Regions from separate parts of the Homo sapiens genome. Here all the other regions are linked to region 3. The links are contacts of gene promoters, found by promoter capture Hi-C in blood cells and fetal thymus (Javierre and others, 2016). All regions are on one chromosome and are shown on one strand. The core of a region is centred on a gene start or on the middle of the fragment in contact, and the rest is flanking DNA. Distances in the headings are between cores, read along the strand shown. Region 1 overlaps MATCAP2 (microtubule associated tyrosine carboxypeptidase 2). Region 2 overlaps ANLN (anillin, actin binding protein). Region 3 holds the start of ELMO1 (engulfment and cell motility 1).

What was found. The method cuts DNA at HindIII sites, captures the fragments that hold promoters and counts their contacts. A CHiCAGO score of 5 or more calls a contact.
Region 1: a fragment that was not itself captured here is called in contact with the fragment with the promoter of ELMO1 in region 3 in 3 of 17 cell types (total CD8 T cells, total CD4 T cells and fetal thymus); the score reaches 6.0 in total CD8 T cells.
Region 2: a fragment that was not itself captured here is called in contact with the fragment with the promoter of ELMO1 in region 3 in 4 of 17 cell types (naive CD8 T cells, total CD8 T cells, total CD4 T cells and 1 more); the score reaches 7.2 in naive CD8 T cells.

What each region holds. Positions count from the first base shown.
Region 1 is chr7:36,362,027-36,364,966 of GRCh38, reverse strand. The region is part of intron 1 of MATCAP2 (microtubule associated tyrosine carboxypeptidase 2); the gene reads left to right. Among named protein-coding and RNA genes, the nearest start is that of MATCAP2, 3.7 kb to the left of the region's middle. The HindIII fragment of the contact is 6,130 bases long and covers 1-2,940 here.
Region 2 is chr7:36,394,079-36,396,904 of GRCh38, reverse strand. ANLN (anillin, actin binding protein) reads right to left here. Exons shown (of 24, transcript NM_018685.5): 2 at 486-639. Among named protein-coding and RNA genes, the nearest start is that of ANLN, 5.6 kb to the right of the region's middle. The HindIII fragment of the contact is 5,776 bases long and covers 1-2,826 here.
Region 3 is chr7:37,447,487-37,450,572 of GRCh38, reverse strand. It overlaps ELMO1 (engulfment and cell motility 1), which reads left to right and starts at 1,709. Exons shown (of 22, transcript NM_014800.11): 1 at 1,709-1,898. RefSeq lists silencers at 1,960-2,009, 2,020-2,069. The HindIII fragment of the contact is 5,071 bases long and covers 1-3,086 here.

The DNA.
Region 1 (2,940 bases), core at 204-2,703, 1.1 Mb after region 3:
GAGGTAGACAATTTGGCAGTGAATTTCTATAGTACAATAAAGTTCAAATAGCCATTTGAGACCATGCAAGCCTCTAATTTACAATTCCTTTAAAAATAACTGGGTCATTTTTCAGACTACTTTCTCTCTTAAATATACTTAACTGCTTGAAATAATTCTAGAGCCCTGTGCCCAGCATTTCACTGCGATATCAGAAAAACCCAGTTTGGACAGCCAGAAACTTCATGTAGAGAGTTAAGCTGAAAACATGCCCTCCTCTCCCCTGGTCATTCCCTCACGATTCATTGATATCTGAGATGGCCATGTTCTTCTTTCTGGTTAGCAGAACTTGATTGTGGTAAGAGTACTGATGGAAATGTGTTCATTTTTTTTTCAGCTCTAAAAGTCGTTACAAATATAGAACAGACTCATTTTATATTTCAGGAATGAAGCAATTACTTGTTTCTGAAATCCTTCCTATATAATATCTTACCCACTTTTGACTTATTAGTATATGCTATCTATGCTGTTTAAAAATGGAATCAAATCAGAAAAGGTTTTTTTGACTTCTCATGGCCTTTTAAAGAAGAAGGTTCTGAGGCTGGGTGCAGTGGCTCACACTTGTAATCCCAGCAGTTTGTGAGGCGGAGAGCAGGCGGATTACCTGAGCTCAGGAGTTCAAGACCAGCCTGGGCAACACGGCAAAACCTTATCTCTACAAAAAATTAAAAAATTAGCCGGGCATGATGGCCTGCGCCTGTAGTCCCAGCTACTTGGAAGGCTGAGGCAGGAGTATCACTTGAGCGCCCAGGCGGCAGAGGTTGCAGTGAGTCAGGATTGCCACTGCACTCCAGCCTTGGCCACAGAGTGAGACCCTGTCACAAAAAAAAAAAAAAGAAGAAGAAGATTCTACTTTAGCTTCCGGGATTTAAAAAAAAAAAAAGGGTTTATTATACCAAAGCCACTAAAATCTTGATTCTAAAATATAGATTAATTACCTTATTAACATGAAATTTGCCTTGGAATTCAAATTTAATGATTCAGAATATTTCCCTATGTACATTTTTCCATGCGGTGTTTCTATAGGAGCTGAATATAATATTTAATGTGATACTAATAATAGTTAACAAAGGCTGCTTACCTATAGTCCAGCACTGTTCTCAGCACTTCACACATATTCACTTTTAAAATCCTTACAATAATACTATGAAGTATGCATTATTATTATCCCATTTTACAGATAAGGAAACTGTAGCACAAAGAAGTTATGTAACTTGGTCAGGGTAATAGCTATTAATAAACAGAGCCAAGATTCATACCAGACAACTCCATTCCAAAGTCCATGTTGTCAACTGCTAGGAAAATCAGCTCACTATTATAGTGACTGTACACTGATTTGAGCCACAAAATCCAACATCAAGATTTCATGTAATATCAGTGTGACATTATCCGATGGTTTGCTCAACTGTTGGTTTTTAGATTTTTAATCACAGGCAAGTATGTAATAATTTTTACCTGGGAAAATCATATTTCACTTGAATAAAAATTTGTTGTTTTCAAAATAGAACGCATCTAGTTCATTCATTAACAAAATGCTGTGAGAAACCATATAAGATTATGTTCATTTATGATTGCCTATCGGCTTTATTTTGTATGTGATATAAGGAGAGATTAATGAGTCATTCCAGAAATGAAGTGTCTTTATATCAAAGATGAATGTTTAAAAATACTGGAAATGAAAGTCTTAAGGCCATCGTTAGGCCATACAGGTTGAATATACCTAGGCACATAGCTCCTGTTTGTCCTACAGCAGCAGGTACCTACCATGTTGTCTTCAACATCACTAATTGTTTCATTTTTCTTTTACCTTCCTGGGATAATTTTTTCCTCAACCGTCAGGCAACTAAGTCTTTTACCCTTTCTTTCCTCTCAAATATTCTCTTCCCTTGTCTACCTCTCTGGCCCCCCTTTCATAAGCAGGACAGTGAATAAGCAAAACCAAACACAGATGTATGTTGTAAAAGAGCTTATAATTTCATTGTTGACGAAGTCTGTCATACAACAAATATAAACCTGCAACCATGATAAAGTACTTCGAAGAAGAGATACAAGGTGTTATGAGGGTCTAAAATGAAAAAGTTAAGGAAGGCTTCCTGACCAAGTGCTATTTGAACTGAAAGATGAGTGGATATTAATCTAACAAAGAGAGGGATAGAAGGGCCCAGCAGACACAGGGAGCAGCATGTGAAGAAGTATGTTCGGAGAGAGCATAGTGAGTATGAGATATGGTCAAAGTGAGAGAAGGCTGGAGTGGAGAAATTGAGGAACACAGTGTGAGGTGAGGCTGCAGAGGCAGAAGGATCTGACCAAGAGTGACCTCATAGACCATGGTTAGGAGTTTTGTCCATCCCAAGGGAAAGCCATGGGAAAGTTTGTTTCTGGCACATTTAGTGTTATTTTAGATGATGTATAATGCTCACTCTTACCACAACCATCACCATCAAGGGTATCTAGACTACTCTGTATTTCTAACTGTAAAAACAACAAACACACAAGTTTCTGACCCCAAAACAACAGTGTCCCATTATAAGTTACTAATAGAGCAGCACTGAATTGCTCTTACCTGGGGCTGTGAAATTTTTAAGAATCCTAAAGTACAGTCAAGTTTCTGAATTCCTGAATGACATTAGCAGTGCCTTTCGTCTCATTTTCATACAGTCGATAAACTACATTGGTTGCTATTGAATTTAGAGATACTATAGTTAATAGATTATCTGTTATAGTGCAGACAAATTGAGCAATAAATATGTTTTTAAGGATACTGATTTTATACACCATTAAAAAAATTAAAGTGTAACTTAAATAAAGTCTACAAGTCTTAAATGTGCAGCCCAATGACTTTGTACATACATAACCATTGCCCAGAACAGATAGCGAACATTTCCAGCACCTGGTAGGTTT
Region 2 (2,826 bases), core at 319-2,818, 1.1 Mb after region 3:
GATTAACAACCTAAACTTTAGAGAGTTGGTTCAGCAAATAGAGAGTGAAAAGGGTTCATTAAATGTCAAGCATGGGCAGTGTGCCTTCCATTGCCTTGCTGGTACCGGAGACACCACCCAAACTCAGTGGCCAGCTGTTCTGCCACCCCTGGGATAAAAAAACTACACACTACTGTAAGTATAAATGTTACCCTACTCCTTTATTTTTCTTCCCTTGAGGTTTTAAGGATAACTTCAGAATGAAGAAAATAAAGTTCAATCAATTAATTTAAAATATTTTTTAGAAGAAACCGTTCCAACCCTATAGGTTCTAGGCCTAATATAATAACTCTGAAATAGAATAGAAGGCTGTTATTTCCCCCAGAGGCTGTTACATTTGTCTCCCAAAGAGCTTGGTTCTTCTATATGCTAATGAAATGTTTGGGGCTTGTCTCCTTCAAAAGAAAAAAAAAGTAAATGTTATTTTTCCCCACAAAGTCTTTTACCTTCACCACCAGAGAGGGGCTGCTGGTTACTTGCTTCTGAAAGTGGCTGTCTAGCTCGCTTAGCATGAGTCATAGACCTTGGAGCTGCTGTGGGCCTCTCAGCCATTTTTCTCTGAAGATTCTCTCGCCTGGCACGGGTTCGCTCCAGCAGTTTCTACATAAATAAATATATCAGTGTTAAAACACAAGTTTAATCAAAGGTTCATAAAATTGCAGTATCTTCTAAAATCACCAATTGCCATACAGGATGACAGTTAAACACATTTCAAAAGTGAAATCCTAAGCAATTATGTCAAGATTCACTAAATGAGTACCCCAATGTCATAACTATTACAGGAATATTACAGAAGGAATAAAATATGTAAAGTTAGTTATATAAGATTTTTAACGGCCACAAATTTTTTCTGCTTTCATCAAAAGACAGAATCTATTTCTTCACCCTTGAATCTGGGCTGGCCTTGTGATCTGCTTTGACCAATAAAATATGGTACAAGTGATATTGTGAGACTTTTAGGCATCAAGAGATTTTACAGTTTGGGGTCTCTCTCTCTCTCTGCCACTAAGTGAACATGCCCAGGTTAAGTCTACTAGAGGAGACACATGGCCCAGGTGATGGTCAGTATCAACTACCAAACATATGAATAAGGCCACCTTAGACCATCCAGCTCCAGATAATCTGCCAGATCACTGAAGATTCCTGCATGACCACTGCAGAGACAAGCAGAAGAACAGCCCGGCTGAGCACAATACAAATTGTTGACCCACTGAATCATGAGAAATAAGAGTATTGTTTTAAGCCACTATGGTAGGCAAAATAATGGTCCCTCAAAGATTTTTTGTCCTAATACCCTAAACCTCTGAATATGTTGCCTTACAGAGCAAAAGAGACTTTACTGATGTGATTAAGAATCTTTAGATGGAGATAATCCTGAATTATCTGGTCAGGCCCAACATAATCACAAAGGTCCTTATGATGGAAAACACAGAGGCAGGAAGATCAGAGTCAGGGAAAATATGACCATGGAAGCAGAGGTCAGAGTAATGTGATTTTTGGCTTTGAAGATGGGGGAACAGGACAAGCCAAGAAATACAGATGGCCTTTAGAAACAAGAAAAGTTAGGAAACAGATTCTCCCCTACAGCCTCCAGAAGAAACACAATTCCACTGACATGTTGATTTTAACACAGTAAAATCCATTTCAGATTTCAGAGTGAGACCCTGTCTCTAAAGAACTGTAAAATAATGAATATGTTATTTTAGGCCACTAAATTTGTGATAACTTGTTACAGCAGCAAAACTAATAGAGCCACTAAAATCTGGGGTGGTGGTAAGCAGCAAGAGATAAATAACATATTAGTCCTTTGAAAACATAAAACACTTCCTAAGAGGAAAGAAAAACAAAATAATCTTATGTTTTATTTAACTAAATATTAACATATAATAAAATGGTTTTAAATTGAAATCTTAGCCATTCCATAAAGTCATGAATACTCCTTTCTACTCCAAATCAACTGATGTTCCTATTTTTAAGTCAATTTTAGTAAAGCTCAAACACAAGACCCTGTAAAACAATTCATTTTCTTTCAAATGCACACAACTAAAGGAGGTATGCAGATTATTATTACTGCCTTGCATACTCAGATACAGTAGTTAGTGCAGGCTGAAAAATTAAATTCCATTTGACTCTTTTTAATTCCTTAAAATACAGTAACAATTTTTTAAAAATCTGAGTATGTAAAAGAAATATGAGCTAAATTTGAAAGAAGGCACACTCTCTACTCTTCTTAAGAATGATTTCTAATTTAAAGTTCATTGAAAAAAGTGACACTAAATTGAAATGCTCTAATCACTGAAAAAATAATTTATGAACCAAATGGCTTCCAAAATACAAGACCTTCACCCGCTAAATAAAAGTCCTTCAACAAATTCAAGAATAAGCATATTGTTTCACAAATCCATATATGTCCGATAATTTCCCCCCATGATACAATATGAGAACTAAAAATAAAATACTAATCCTCCCAACCAACTGAACAGATCCCCTCTTGATGAAGGGGACCCCAGAGAAACCTTAAAAACCGAGTTCTCAGCCATGATGGAACAGGAGGCCGCATGCACCTTGTTATACCCCTCCTTTTGCTGTTTAAACACAATAACTGATGAGCATTAATGTTAAATAGAGATCATAAGACTGACAGAAGACTCTTTGTAGCAATAAGATATCAAATTATAAACAGGATCAAGCCTAGGCAACAAAGCAAGATCCTGTCTCTGCAAAACATACAAAAGTTAGCCAGGCATGGTGGGGCACATCTGTAGTCCCAGCTACCTGGGGGGTGGG
Region 3 (3,086 bases), core at 460-2,959:
TAATTGCTGTGCAAGGAGGGAACAATTATGACAGCTAATGTTTACTGAGTGCTCACCACGCATGCACTAAAGTTAAGGTCTTTATATGCCTTAGCTACAAGGTTGTAGATCAAATTCATACTTATCACTACAAGTGTCTCAGAGCATCGTTAGTAAAGGCTCCATTTACTGACTACTTATTAAATTACTTCATTTAATAGTTGGTGCTATTGACTTTTGTTATTATATCATTACTGTTTTATAGATGAGGAAATACAGAAGTTAAGTTGCTTTCCTGCAGTCACCCTGCTTTAGTTACTGGCTTATAACCATCTGGACCCAGGCACTCTTGATACTAATACTGCCTCCCAGAGTCATGCGTATAATAAGGAGTTAGATCAGAGCTGTTCATTAAAAGTATAAGGTGAGCCACTAATGAGAGCCTATGTGTAGCCTTACATTTTCTAGTAGCTACATCAGAAAATGTAAAAAGAAACTGGTGAAATTAATCTTATATATGCTTATATCTTAACCCAACACATGACGAATCCAACTGACTTACTACATCAGACTATTCTCATGTATTGCAATAATGTAATCAACATAAACATACTTAACAAGTTAGTTTACATTCATTTTAAAAATACTGAATTGTATGTCTGTTTTACACTTACAGAACATCTCAGGGATAGCCACATTTCAAGTGCTCAACAGCTGCCTGTGGCTCTTGAGGGGGAAGATCTTAAAAGGGAGCTTAGTTTTCCACCTTGATTCTGATGCCTCCCTGCCCCCGACTTATTTCCTTTGCCAATTAGAAGAAAATGCCGAACTGCCTTTGACTTTTCCGGTAGAGCCAATGTAGGTATTTCTGAACTGGGGGAGGACAGGTGGTTCGCCTGCAACCCTCTTCCCTCCTGCCAGCTAGGCTGGGAGTTAACGTTTTTGATTTCTGCTTTGAAAATGATTTAAGTAGGTTGCATGAATTAAGTAATTTATTCTAAATATCAAATTATGGGTGGAACGTCTTGCCTTATGCAAAGTTATGCAAAATTAGGAAGTCCCTGGCTTAATTGGTTAGAAATACATCTTGTAGTTTCAATTGCAGGGTTAGTAAATACATAGATGTCGACGGAGAGGGAGGAAACTTTTTTTTTTTTTTTTTGCCACTCTGTCCAAGGGTAGAGGCACAGCGTCAAAACAAACACGTCTTAAAGTAGCGTTCAAACAGCCCACCGAAGTTTCCCCTTAATATCCGGAACCGGTTGCCAAAAATTAAAAAAGGATGTGAAAAGATGCTACTCGCTTTTGGCCTCCCGGAGATGGCGCTATGAGGGTGACGGAGTTAATTAGTGCCTCCAAACGCCGTGTGTGAGCTCATCGAAGTCATGCTCTGCACACATATTATTTATAGCAGATCTGAGGCATGCATGGTGTTTGACATTTCTGTCTTTTAAGTAGGGGGACTTCAAAAAGTCGTGGGCATCCCCCTAGGCAAAGTGCAGTGGGCAGGGACCAGGCAGGGTGCGGGCGCAAGGCGAACGCGCAGACCACGAGTGTCCTGGCGCAGGTGCCGGGGGCGGCGGCTGCAACTCCGCAGCGTCCGCTCGGGAGGAGAGTTCGCGGCTGATCTCCGGATGCCTTGCAGATGCAAAATGTGTCTCTGGCCAGCAGGAGGAAGGAAGAGGAAGTGAGAGCAGCGGCAGCCGGCGGTGCAGCAGCCGGCCGACCCAGAGTGTAAGTGCGTGTGCTGGGGCGAGCGGGAGCGGGCGAGGATGGGCACAGGATAGAGGCAGAGCCACCCACGCCGCCGCGGCCCCACGCTGGGCGACAGAGCCTCCAGTTCCCCTTCAATGGTGGCGGGTCGCCGGAGCTCTGATCGCCGGGAACCCTTGCCGCTGCTGTCCTGCGACCCCAAGCAGGTTCGTAAAGTTTCCTGGGCTGGCGCCGCGCCCCGACTCGCTGACCTCGGCGCGGCAGGGGAGGGGGCCGGGACTGGGGCCGGGAGGAGGCGTCCTGCTCCGGGGGACTCCGGGCGCCGCGGAGACACTTTTGTTTCCTCCCTGGGGGCGCCGCGGCTCGGGCGGGGGTGGCCGCCGCGCTCGGCAGGGTGAGGGCTGCGGGCGCGTCGGGGCGCTCTGCAGTTGGGGAAGTCTGAGCTCCGGGGATGGCGGGAGTGGGAGTGGGAGCGGAGGGAGGGGGCGCTGGAGGTGCGGCGCCCGCGGATGAAGCGCAGGGCCCGGGGCCCGGGAGCCCGCCGAGACATTTCGACCAGGGTCTGCGGGAGGGGGGGCGCGGGAGGGTTGCGACGCTGGCGCGGGGTTACTGGGGACGGGGGATGTGGGGCTGGGATCTTGGAGTCAAGATTCCTATAGAGCTAGAGAAGCGGCTGCGGCTCAGACTCGGCGTCTTCTCCTGCACTCGGGGATGGGAGGGAATCCCCCGGCGAGCGCGCTCGTGGGAGGGGGCGGTGATGGGCCAGAGGAATGGGGGCCAGGAGGGCCGGAGAGGGCGGTCTGGGCAGCCGGGAGCCCCTGAGGTTCTGGTTAGTAAATACTCTCCTCCCGGGGACACACCGGGGTCTCCGCCGAGACCGAGAGAGGCGGCGGGGAGCTTTGTGGAGCTTCGTGGAAATCTCGGCTTCGGAGAGGGGACGCACCGGGCGCGCCTTCAGAGAAGGGGGCGGCGGCATGCCAGGGGGCCCGGGAATCGGAGCGGAGAGTGGCGACTGCGATCGCCGGAGTCGCTTTGAGGAAGAGGAAATACAGAACTCAGCTGTCCCGGGGGTGCGCGCGTGTGTTTGGGGTTGGGAAGTCGGTGCTGTGCCGCGAGCGCGCGCGAGGCGGCGTGTGTGTGTGTGTGTGTGTGTGTGTGTGTGTGTGGTGTGTGCGCGCGCGCGTATGTATGTGTGTGTGGTGTGTCGTCGGTGTGTGTGTGAGTGTGTGTGTGTGGGGGGGGTGTTGTGGGTGTGTGTGTGAGTCGGTGTGTGTGTGTGTGACCGCACAGCCAGGAACTCCCCGCCCAGTGACCCTCTCCCGCCTAGGGGGCCATTTGAAGTTGGAGGCGGGTCGGGACCTGCCTTGACCTAAAGGACCAGCCTCAGGCTTGGT